Regions from separate parts of the Homo sapiens genome. Here all the other regions are linked to region 1. Evidence: promoter capture Hi-C in 16 types of primary human blood cells and fetal thymus (Javierre and others, 2016). All regions are on one chromosome and are shown on one strand. The core of a region is centred on a gene start or on the middle of the fragment in contact, and the rest is flanking DNA. Distances in the headings are between cores, read along the strand shown.

Region 1 (2,851 bases), core at 205-2,704:
CTCGAGGCTTCCTGGACATAGACTCACGGGCCCAGAGTCTGGCCGGGCTCTGAGGGACGCTGCCCGGCCAGGTGCCCCGGCACCCTCCTTCCGCATTCCCCACCCCCCACCCCTCCCCCTGCATCCTCCCCAACCGACCCCAGACAGAGCTGGGAGGGCCTGAGGGACACTGCCCAGGCCGGCACCCCGCTGCCCCTCCCCACCTTGGTCAGCGCTGAGCTGGGCTGCCCAGAAATCTATGAGCCTGTTAAATAATCCAGATTATTGTTCTTAATCTCAAAACAATGAGTGGAAGGTGCCATTATTTCTCTTTGCAATAAAAATAAAAGTTGAAATACGCAGTTTAGGGACTTTCCTTACCACCCCTTGCAGACTTTGAATTTCCCTTCCCGCCCCTTCCTGCCCCCTTGTGGCTGCCAGTCCAGGTCCCTGGGTTGGAGCTCCCGGGTGGACACAGTAGGGTCAGTGGGAGGGTGGGGCGGGGAGGGGCCTCCAGGGAGGGGGTGTCCCGAGTCTCAGGGGCTGGGGGGCAGGCGGCCGTCGGGTGCAGGTGGGGGTCACGGCAGGGCTCACTCAGGCATGAGTCGGGAGAAGGGAGGCCAGCTGGAAGGGGGCAGGGGTCCTGCGGGCTGGACAGGAGGAGGCAGAGGCTGGAGGCGGGAGGGGCTGCCTGGGAGGGACCTGTGGCCTTGGGCCCCAGCGCCATGGGCGCTTCCAGGCCGCACTCACGGTCCTTGCCTGCCCCCTGGCGTCCGTGTGGAGGAAGGCAGTGCCCGTTTCTTCAGCCGTGGGTGCCCCTGGCTCTGCCTCCCCGGGGATCCCCCAAAACCCTCGGGCCCTCCTCTTCCGGGAAGTCCTCCGGGCCGACCCACACAGCTGTCGCTGCCCTGATTCCACTCCCTCTTCCCTGCTTGGCCCTTACCCGAGGGCGGGCCTGCCCATGAGGCCGCTCTCAGGACGCCTGCCCACAGCAGCTCCTGACATTGGGCCCTGTGCTCAGGGGTGGAGTCTGGGGCTGGGTGAGGGCACCGACGGGTGGAGGGGAAGCTGCCGGAAGCGGGGAGAGAGGCGGCCCCCACCTGTGCCCCCGCAGCTCTGAGGGTTGGGAAGGCAGCGCCTGCAGCCCTCACCTTCCTGCCCTCAGGCTGCGAGGCTTGTTCCCAGAGGGCCGTTGGCTTCCCTGAGTGCCTGAGTGTCCATAAGTTGGACCCCCAAGAAGCCCCAACCGGGAGGTCCTCCTCCCCCTCTCCTGCGCTCAGGCCGGCCCTGGCGGTGCTTGCCCAGTGGGTTCCCATAGTGCGGGCGCTAAGTGCTCAGATGGGCCCCAGTGGGCCTGAGGACTTGTGGGGCCGGCTGGGCCCTCAGGAGGAGCCGGGGTGCTCTGGAGCGCCTGTGGGTGCTGGGTGTGGCTGCTTCCCGGCCTGTCATGAGGAAGTGGGACGGCCCGCCTGCCACGCCCAGCTCTGGGTGCTCCAGCTGGGCCACAGCCTGGTCCTGCCGCTGCGCCCGCCCGCCATGGTGTCCCGGGACCAGGCTCACCTGGGCCCCAAGTATGTGGGCCTCTGGGACTTCAAGTCCCGGACGGACGAGGAGCTGAGCTTCCGCGCGGGGGACGTCTTCCACGTGGCCAGGAAGGAGGAGCAGTGGTGGTGGGCCACGCTGCTGGACGAGGCGGGTGGGGCCGTGGCCCAGGGCTATGTGCCCCACAACTACCTGGCCGAGAGGGAGACGGTGGAGTCGGAACCGTGCGTGTCCTAGGCTGCTGGGAGCTTTGGCACAGGCCACCCTCTAGGCACAGGGGAGGGACAGGGCTCTGGGCTGCTCAGGGAGGCCCAAGAAGGTGGGGACCCCGGTTCCATCTTCCTGCACCCCAAAGTCCAGGCTGGGCATCCCGCTTGATCCTCCCTGCAGGCCCCATGCGCTGGCGCCCAGGAGTGCCCAGGACTGTCCCTGCGGGAGTTGGAGCACGGGGGTCAGAGGGCACGGCCCCTGCCTTGGGCTCATCCTTGTCACAGCTCGGGGGTGGACGCTGCATTGCCGGGACCCAGGGAGGACAGAGGGTCCAGGGTGGACTTCTGGGGCCCGGTGGCCAGTGACAAGGTCTGTCGGAGCGTTCCAGGGCCTTTGGGGGAAACGAAGCTTGAAGCTTGCCCAGTTTCCAAAGTGCCGGAACCAGACACACGACCTAGTTAGGGGAGCGGGCCGGCTGCCGGGCAAACTTCCTGCCTGCTGTGCCCTGCGGGGAACCAGACAGCAGCTGGTGTGGCCTGGCCCTGGCTTCCACAGCTGCCCGGAGCTCAGGCTGAGGAGGGTCACGCTCCTGAGATCCCGCGTTTCTCATCAGTGATTGGGCACCCACTGTGTGTGTGCGTGAGTCACAGGCTGTGTAGGGTTAGCTCCCGGGGGACCCAAGCAACAAGCAGGGGAGGCTGTAAAGAGGCCGTCGGGCAGGGGCCCATGGTGGAGACCCCTCTATTACGTGCAGACCCACGACCTCGTTAGCAGGGTCACGCGCAGACCCACGACCTCGTTAGTGAGCAGGGGTGCAGGGGTGGGGTCTGGCCGGAGGCTGGTCAGCTCCCAGGTGCAAAGACCCTGAGTCCTGAGAACTCGCCCAGGTGAGAAGTGGGGAGGAGGCCAGGTGAGGAGGGGGTGGGAGGCCAGGTGGGGGGGGGAGCGGGAGGCTAGGTGGGGGGGGCTGGAGGCCAGGTGAGGGGGGGCGGGAGGCCAGGTGGGGGGGGCGGGAGACCAGGAGAGGAGGGGACGGGAGGCCAGGAGAGGAGGGGGCGGGAGGCCAGGAGAGGAGGGGGCGGGAGGCCAGGTGAGGAGGGGGCGGGAGGCCAGGTGAGGG
Region 2 (2,851 bases), core at 142-2,641, 550 kb before region 1:
AAGCTCAGCTAAGACCCTGCTCCTCAGCTGGGACAGCCCTACTCCCAAACTCACAGGTTCCAAACTCCCAGCAAGGTGTCCCAGCGGCAGGTCTGTGAATATAGAGAGAGTACAGACATCTCGTGGAAGTAATAGATACGTAACAGATTGGACTTTTTGCACTAATTTTTGCCTAATTTAAACTGTGGAATAAGCACGTGAATTAGGAAATTCTAGAACACACTTATGAGTGCCTGAAGAAATTATAAAATGATTAAGTAGTTAATTGAGAATTAGTTACAAAACAAAGGAATGCACAAATAGATTTCCAAAATCTAGTATCTAGGACCCAAGATCCCAAGACACAGTGTTCAGCAAAACCCAGCTCTAGTCCTGGGGACACCAGGACCCCTGAGACCCCAAACTTGCCCTAGAAGAGGTGAGGGGTCCTGAGTTCTGCCCCATTATCCCTTTCTGTGAACACCAGTGGCTGGGGCCAGAGCCCCCTGGCCATCAGAAGGGAATGGGCCTTAACCACAAAGGTCTCCTCATAGCCGAGGGCCCCACCCACAAAACTAACCCCAAAGACCCCTCAAGCCAGGAACCTGGGCCCACAACCCCTAGGATGGCGCGTCTGCGGCCGCCTGGAAAGGACGCTCACCCAAGCTGGAGAAGCCGGCTCTATGCCTCTATGCCCCAATGACCCCTATGAGGGGCGCGTCCACGCCCAGACTCTAACCCAGGGCCCTCCGGAGGGGACCCTGCCCCCCGCCACGACCCGCCCCACCTGGTCGAGGGAGGGGCAGGACTCCCGGTTGCTGGGCAACCGCGTCAACAAGCCCAAAGAGTCTGGGCTACGGCGGAGGTTCTTCCGACCAGAGAAGGCAGCAAGCAGGGGGTGTAGGGACCAAGAGGTGGGGGCTGGGCCTCGGCTGCAGGAGCTAAGGAGGGGCGGGGGCGTTAGCCGCCGCTGGGGCTGGCCGTGGCTCTGCCTCTGGCACAGCGAGCCCAGCCCTGGCTGGACAAGGTGGCAGCTGTAGGCTGGGGCCGGGAAGGGAGGAGCCAGCTGGGCTTTTGGACCCTCCCTCCTCTGTCACCTGCCCTCTAGGCTCTGCTCCCCACAACCATCTAGGCCTCGAAGGGCAAGAGCGAGCTGTCTGGTGGGAGACCCTGACTGTCGGGGACCGCAGACATAGGGGCACAACGAAGGTCCCCCAGGCGTCACCTAGAGCTCTCCATGTGGCAGGGCCTGAGATCAACCCAGTGGGGTCTCAGCATTTTCTCAATTCAAACAGAACAGTCCATCGGGTAGGAAAGATATTTCCTACAACTGAGTTGATCAGAAAGTCCTAGTTGACTGCAGGACTGAGCAGGATCAGCCGATGGCAGAGCTGCTGGGGACGTGCGCTTGGGAGAGGGAGAGCGCCTGGGCAAAGCTCAGAGGCTGGGGGTGCGGAACTCAAAACCGACTGCGGAGAGCCCAGCGGGCGGGAGCTGGGGCGCACGTTGGGGCCCTGCCGAGGGGCGGGCAGGGCCCGGTGCCAGCCCCGGCACCGACGGGACGCCCTCCTCCCTCCGCAGGGCGGGAGGATGCCGCCGCCAGCGAAGGAGGGCGGGCGCAAGGGCCCGCGGGAGCGAAGCGGGAAGAGCGCGCCAGGCACGGCGCAGGGTGAGGAGCGTGCCAAGGGGGCGCCCGCGACAGAGCCCCCCAAGCCGGGCTGGGCCCTGACGCCGCAGGGACTGGCGGCCATGCTCCCTGCGCAGCGCCACCGCCATCTGCTCTTCGGCGACCTGCTGGAGGACGTGGGCGCGGCGGCCTCCACCTTCCCGTGCGGGTCGGTGGAACCGGGGTACCGCATGCCCGACCCGCGCCCGTGGACGCAGTCGCTCGAGCTGCCCGCCGAGCGCCAGAACCGGCTCCTCGGCGTCCTCAAGGCAGCGGAGGCCCGCGGGCGAGTCCGCGCCCTGCGGCTGCGCTACACCCGCATGCGGGTGAGGCGAGGGGGTCGGAGGGCAGAGGGGGCGCACCGGGAGCGTTGAGCGGAGCCGGCCGGGGCGGGGCGGGGCGGGGCTCGGCGCGCGCTCAGCTACCCGGGCCCCGCAGGCCGAGGAGATCGCGCTGCTCATCCAGCGGCAGAAGTCCGCGCGCGCCGCCATCCGGCTGGAGCTGTTCCTGCCGCCGCAGCTGAAGCCCGCGCGGATCCCGGACCCCCTGGACCGCCAAGAGGTGCAGACAAGCCCCGGTAGGGGCGGGGAAAGGGGAGGGGCCCTGCCCGCCTCCGCACACGCCGGACCCCAGCCTCTCTCCCCGGCAGCGGAGGCGCGTGGAGACCATCCTGGAGGAGAACGTGGATGGCACCATCTTCCCGCGGTGACGGCGACTGAGAGTGTGCGACGCGCCCCAGCCTCCCACATAAAGTTATAATTCTCCGAAGGCTCGCTGGTCTTTTTGCTGCCACTCCCCAGGACCCCGAGGGAAGCGGGGAGTATGGACGCTGCCTCTCCCATGCACCTCACAGACATCAGGGTACAGAGAGTGGGGCCTCTCCCAAAAAAGTGGGGAGACGCAAGTGGGTGGGTGTGAAAGTAACAGGTCAGGGACACGCCTACCCCTAATCCCGATCTGCCCCCCACTGGCAACCTGGCGTTCTGTGGGTCTATGGGAGGCCCCCAGTCTTGGGGAGGACGGAGAAAGAGCCTGTTTCAGCAGAAGTCACCCCCAGATGTAAGGGTAGCCTCAGGCTGCAGTGGTCTCGAGTGCGAGTCATCCCACCAGGGGGCCAGGGAGAGGGCAGTGCTGTGGGCAGCGGAAGTGACCTAAGCTGGCCTTTGAAGAAGCAGCAGCTGTGCCCAAGAGGACCAAGAGACTGGG
Region 3 (2,851 bases), core at 212-2,711, 530 kb before region 1:
CCCCCAAACCCCCACTGCAGTCACACAGCCCTGGGGTGGCTGCACAAATCACCCAAAGCCCATGACTCAGCCACCTTCACCGCCCTGGGCTGGCCTGGCAGACACACAGCTGGCCCTGCCCCAGGAGTTCACAGTCTGGGTGGGAAAGCACAGGTCACGTTTATTGAGCCAGCCAGGAGCTCCAAATGACCTGCGGCCAGACCCCTCCCCACCCCCCAGGAGGCAGGCAGCATCCTCTAAAGATGCTTCTGTGGGAGGGTGCAGAGGTTGCCAAGGTCATGACGCTGGAACTGGACCCCCACTGACCTGGCCCCTTCAAAGTCCTCACACACAGCCTCCTCCAAAGTCTCGCTGTGGCCGCAAGACAACAGAGGCCCAGGCCGCAGTGAACAGAGCCGGCCAGAGGCTCCAGCGCCCAGACACTCCCAGAGGAGGCTTGCCCGACCTCCTGGCTCTTATATAAGCACACCGGCTCTTTTCGGAGGGTGTCCACATAACTACCCACAACCCAAGTTGCTGCGGGCTAAGTCCTGGCTAAAGAAGGGAGAGAATTTATTAGAGAAACCTGGTTCTTGTGGGGTGGGGACAGACAGGGAAGAAAATGGGCCCACAGGCAAGACAGGTATCTGGCTGGCCTGTGAAGGAGGATGACAAGGGCTGGGAAGAGGCAGGGGAGGCACGGAAGCTCCAGAAGAAAAGGGGATCCAACCTCAGACTCCAAACTGTTGCCGGCGACAAATGCTATGGGAGACGGAGGGTGACAAACGCTGTAAGAGACGGAGCGTGGGAGAGGGCTGAGTTGGGGGGCGGGGCTCGGCCTGTGAGGATGCCCAGGCCGGGATGGAGGAAGGCAAGGGGCTGGCGCGGCCCGCAGAGGAGGCCCGAACACCCCGGGGGCTCCGAGAGGCGGGACAGGGCCAAGGAAGGAGTCGACGGGCCAGGCTGGGGGTCTGGAGTTAAGGGACAGGGAAGGGTGCGGAGCCTGTGACTGCGGGCGAGGGAGGGGTCTGAGTCCAGAGCGGGTGGCTCTCCCGGGACAAGGTCCAGGCCTGATCGCGGCCTCTGCCGGGGTTGCGGGAGTGAACGGCAGGGCTGGCCCGGGGCAGGGGTCTCGGCCACGGGTGGGGGTCTCCCCTGCGTCCCGGTTAGTCTCTGCCGGGGAGGGGTCTCGTCCTGCCCCTCAGGTCGTCTTCCGGCCCTAACGGGGGTCGGCGGGCTCGACGGGGTCTCGGCGGGGCGGGGTTCCCGGGGTCCTGGCGGCCCGCGCCCCTCACCGCGCTCTTCTTGGTCACCATCTTGTCCAGCCTCCGGGCGATCCGCGCAATCTCCTCTTCCTTGCCCATCATCGCCTCAGGAGCAGCGACCCCCGCGCCCGTCGCGCCCGCCTCCGCAGCCGGGCAGGACCCCGGCCCCGGCCGTCGCCACCTCCCACACCCGCCGCAGCCGACGCAGCCCCGCCGCGGACGACAGACCCCCGGTTCAAACCCTCGGCCCCGCGGCCGCGCGCGGCATCCTAGGATGCGTAGTCCACGCGCCCGCCTGCCGCGCCCGCCGCGCCCGCGCTCTGGACCACAACTCCCAGGCGCCACGCGGCGCGCACAGCCTCCTGGGAAGTGTAGTCCTGACCCACCGTCGCCAGTGACTCGTGATCCCACAATACCCCGCGAGGGAGGCGCCCCGGGCACGCCCCTCCCAGAGCTCAGACATCCCGGAGCGACCGGGCCCCAGGAGGCCCAGGAATCTGCTCCCTTCTCTCCTCCTGCTTCGGGCCTTGCTGTCCCGCGGCGTCCTTCGGTGGGTGGCTCAGGACCCAGTGCCCTCAGCCCTTCTCTTGGGCCCCGCTGAGCCCTGCGCGCGCCCCACTTGGCCTAGAAGGCCGTCCCCAGCCTCCCAGAGCCCAGTTTGGGTCATTCGGGCTTCTGAGTAGAGTTACTTCTTCAAGAGGCCCGCGCACACTGGGAGGCCTCTTGTGGGGCCCTGCAGGTGTGAGCGCGCGGTAGCTGGACGTGGCGTCTGGAAGGGGCCATTGCTGGGGTTCGCGAAGTGCGGGGGCCTCTGCCGAGGCTGCGTGGGCAAGGCCCCTGCCTGCAAAGTCAGCTACCAGGGAGCAGATTCTGGGCTCTGCACGTTGACCACTGTGTCTCAGTCTCCCCACCTGTGAAACTGGAGTTAAGTGTCCGCCTCACAGGGCTCCCGTCAAGATGATGTCAGCTGATTCACATCACATGCCTGAGAACAGAGAGGGGATGGAGCATGACAATTAGTGTTCATTGACATTGTTGTTGGAGGTCCCTAGGTAGGGCCAGACTGCAGGCAGCCAGAGAGATGGCCCAGGCCTAGGGAGGGTTGAGGACGGGGACAGGTGCAGGGCCAGCATCCCCACCACTGCCTGGCAGCTCCCCAGTAATGCAGATGCTGGGTGGTTTCCTGGAGAGGGCACAATCCTGGGGGAGGGTGTGGATCAAGGAGCCTGTAGTCATTCAAGTTCAGGCCAACGAACTATGAGGCCAGGTGGCAGGTGGAATGGGCTGAGCATTTCTTGGGCTGTCTGTGGCACTAATCACATATAACTGAGCTTCCCCGCAGCCAAAATGAAAAGGAAAATATGGTCAGTTAAGAGACTCATCTTAGCCGGGCAATAGTGGCTCATGCCTGTAATCCCAGCGCTTTGGGAGGCCCAGGCGGGTGGATCACCTGAGGTCAGGAGTTCGAGACCAGCCTGGCCAATATGGTGAAACCCCGTCTCTACAAAGAATACAAAAACTAGCCAGGTGTGGTGCCGGGCACCTGTAATCTCAGCTACTTGGGAGGCTAAGGCAGGAGAATTGCTGGAACCCGGAAGGCGGAGGTT

Evidence for each region. The method cuts DNA at HindIII sites, captures the fragments that hold promoters and counts their contacts. A CHiCAGO score of 5 or more calls a contact.
Region 2: the fragment with the promoter of LKAAEAR1 here is called in contact with the fragment with the promoter of PTK6 in region 1 in 7 of 17 cell types (M0 macrophages, endothelial precursors, fetal thymus and 4 more); the score reaches 10.5 in M0 macrophages.
Region 3: a contact is called between the fragment with the promoter of TCEA2 here and the fragment with the promoter of PTK6 in region 1, in 6 of 17 cell types (endothelial precursors, activated CD4 T cells, total CD8 T cells and 3 more). The highest score is 10.1, in endothelial precursors.

What each region holds. Positions count from the first base shown.
Region 1 is chr20:63,535,979-63,538,829 of GRCh38, reverse strand. PTK6 (protein tyrosine kinase 6) reads left to right here and starts at 1,454. Exons shown (of 8, transcript NM_005975.4): 1 at 1,454-1,745. The coding sequence starts at 1,516. It overlaps SRMS (src-related kinase lacking C-terminal regulatory tyrosine and N-terminal myristylation sites), which reads left to right. Exons shown (of 8, transcript NM_080823.4): 8 at 1-341. RefSeq lists silencers at 396-665, 996-1,145 and an enhancer at 1,266-1,355. The HindIII fragment of the contact is 2,955 bases long and covers 1-2,141 here.
Region 2 is chr20:64,082,938-64,085,788 of GRCh38, reverse strand. It overlaps LKAAEAR1 (LKAAEAR motif containing 1), which reads left to right and starts at 1,391. Exons shown (of 3, transcript NM_001353425.2): 1 at 1,391-1,971; 2 at 2,084-2,206; 3 at 2,295-2,413. The coding sequence starts at 1,570. The coding sequence ends at 2,354. The region is part of intron 1 of OPRL1 (opioid related nociceptin receptor 1); the gene reads right to left. RefSeq lists silencers at 1,979-2,058, 2,239-2,298. The HindIII fragment of the contact is 5,360 bases long and covers 1-2,851 here.
Region 3 is chr20:64,061,808-64,064,658 of GRCh38, reverse strand. TCEA2 (transcription elongation factor A2) reads right to left here and starts at 1,461. Exons shown (of 10, transcript NM_003195.6): 1 at 1,275-1,461. The coding sequence starts at 1,346. RefSeq lists a silencer at 1,201-1,560 and enhancers at 1,891-1,940, 1,951-2,080. The HindIII fragment of the contact is 9,862 bases long and covers 1-2,851 here.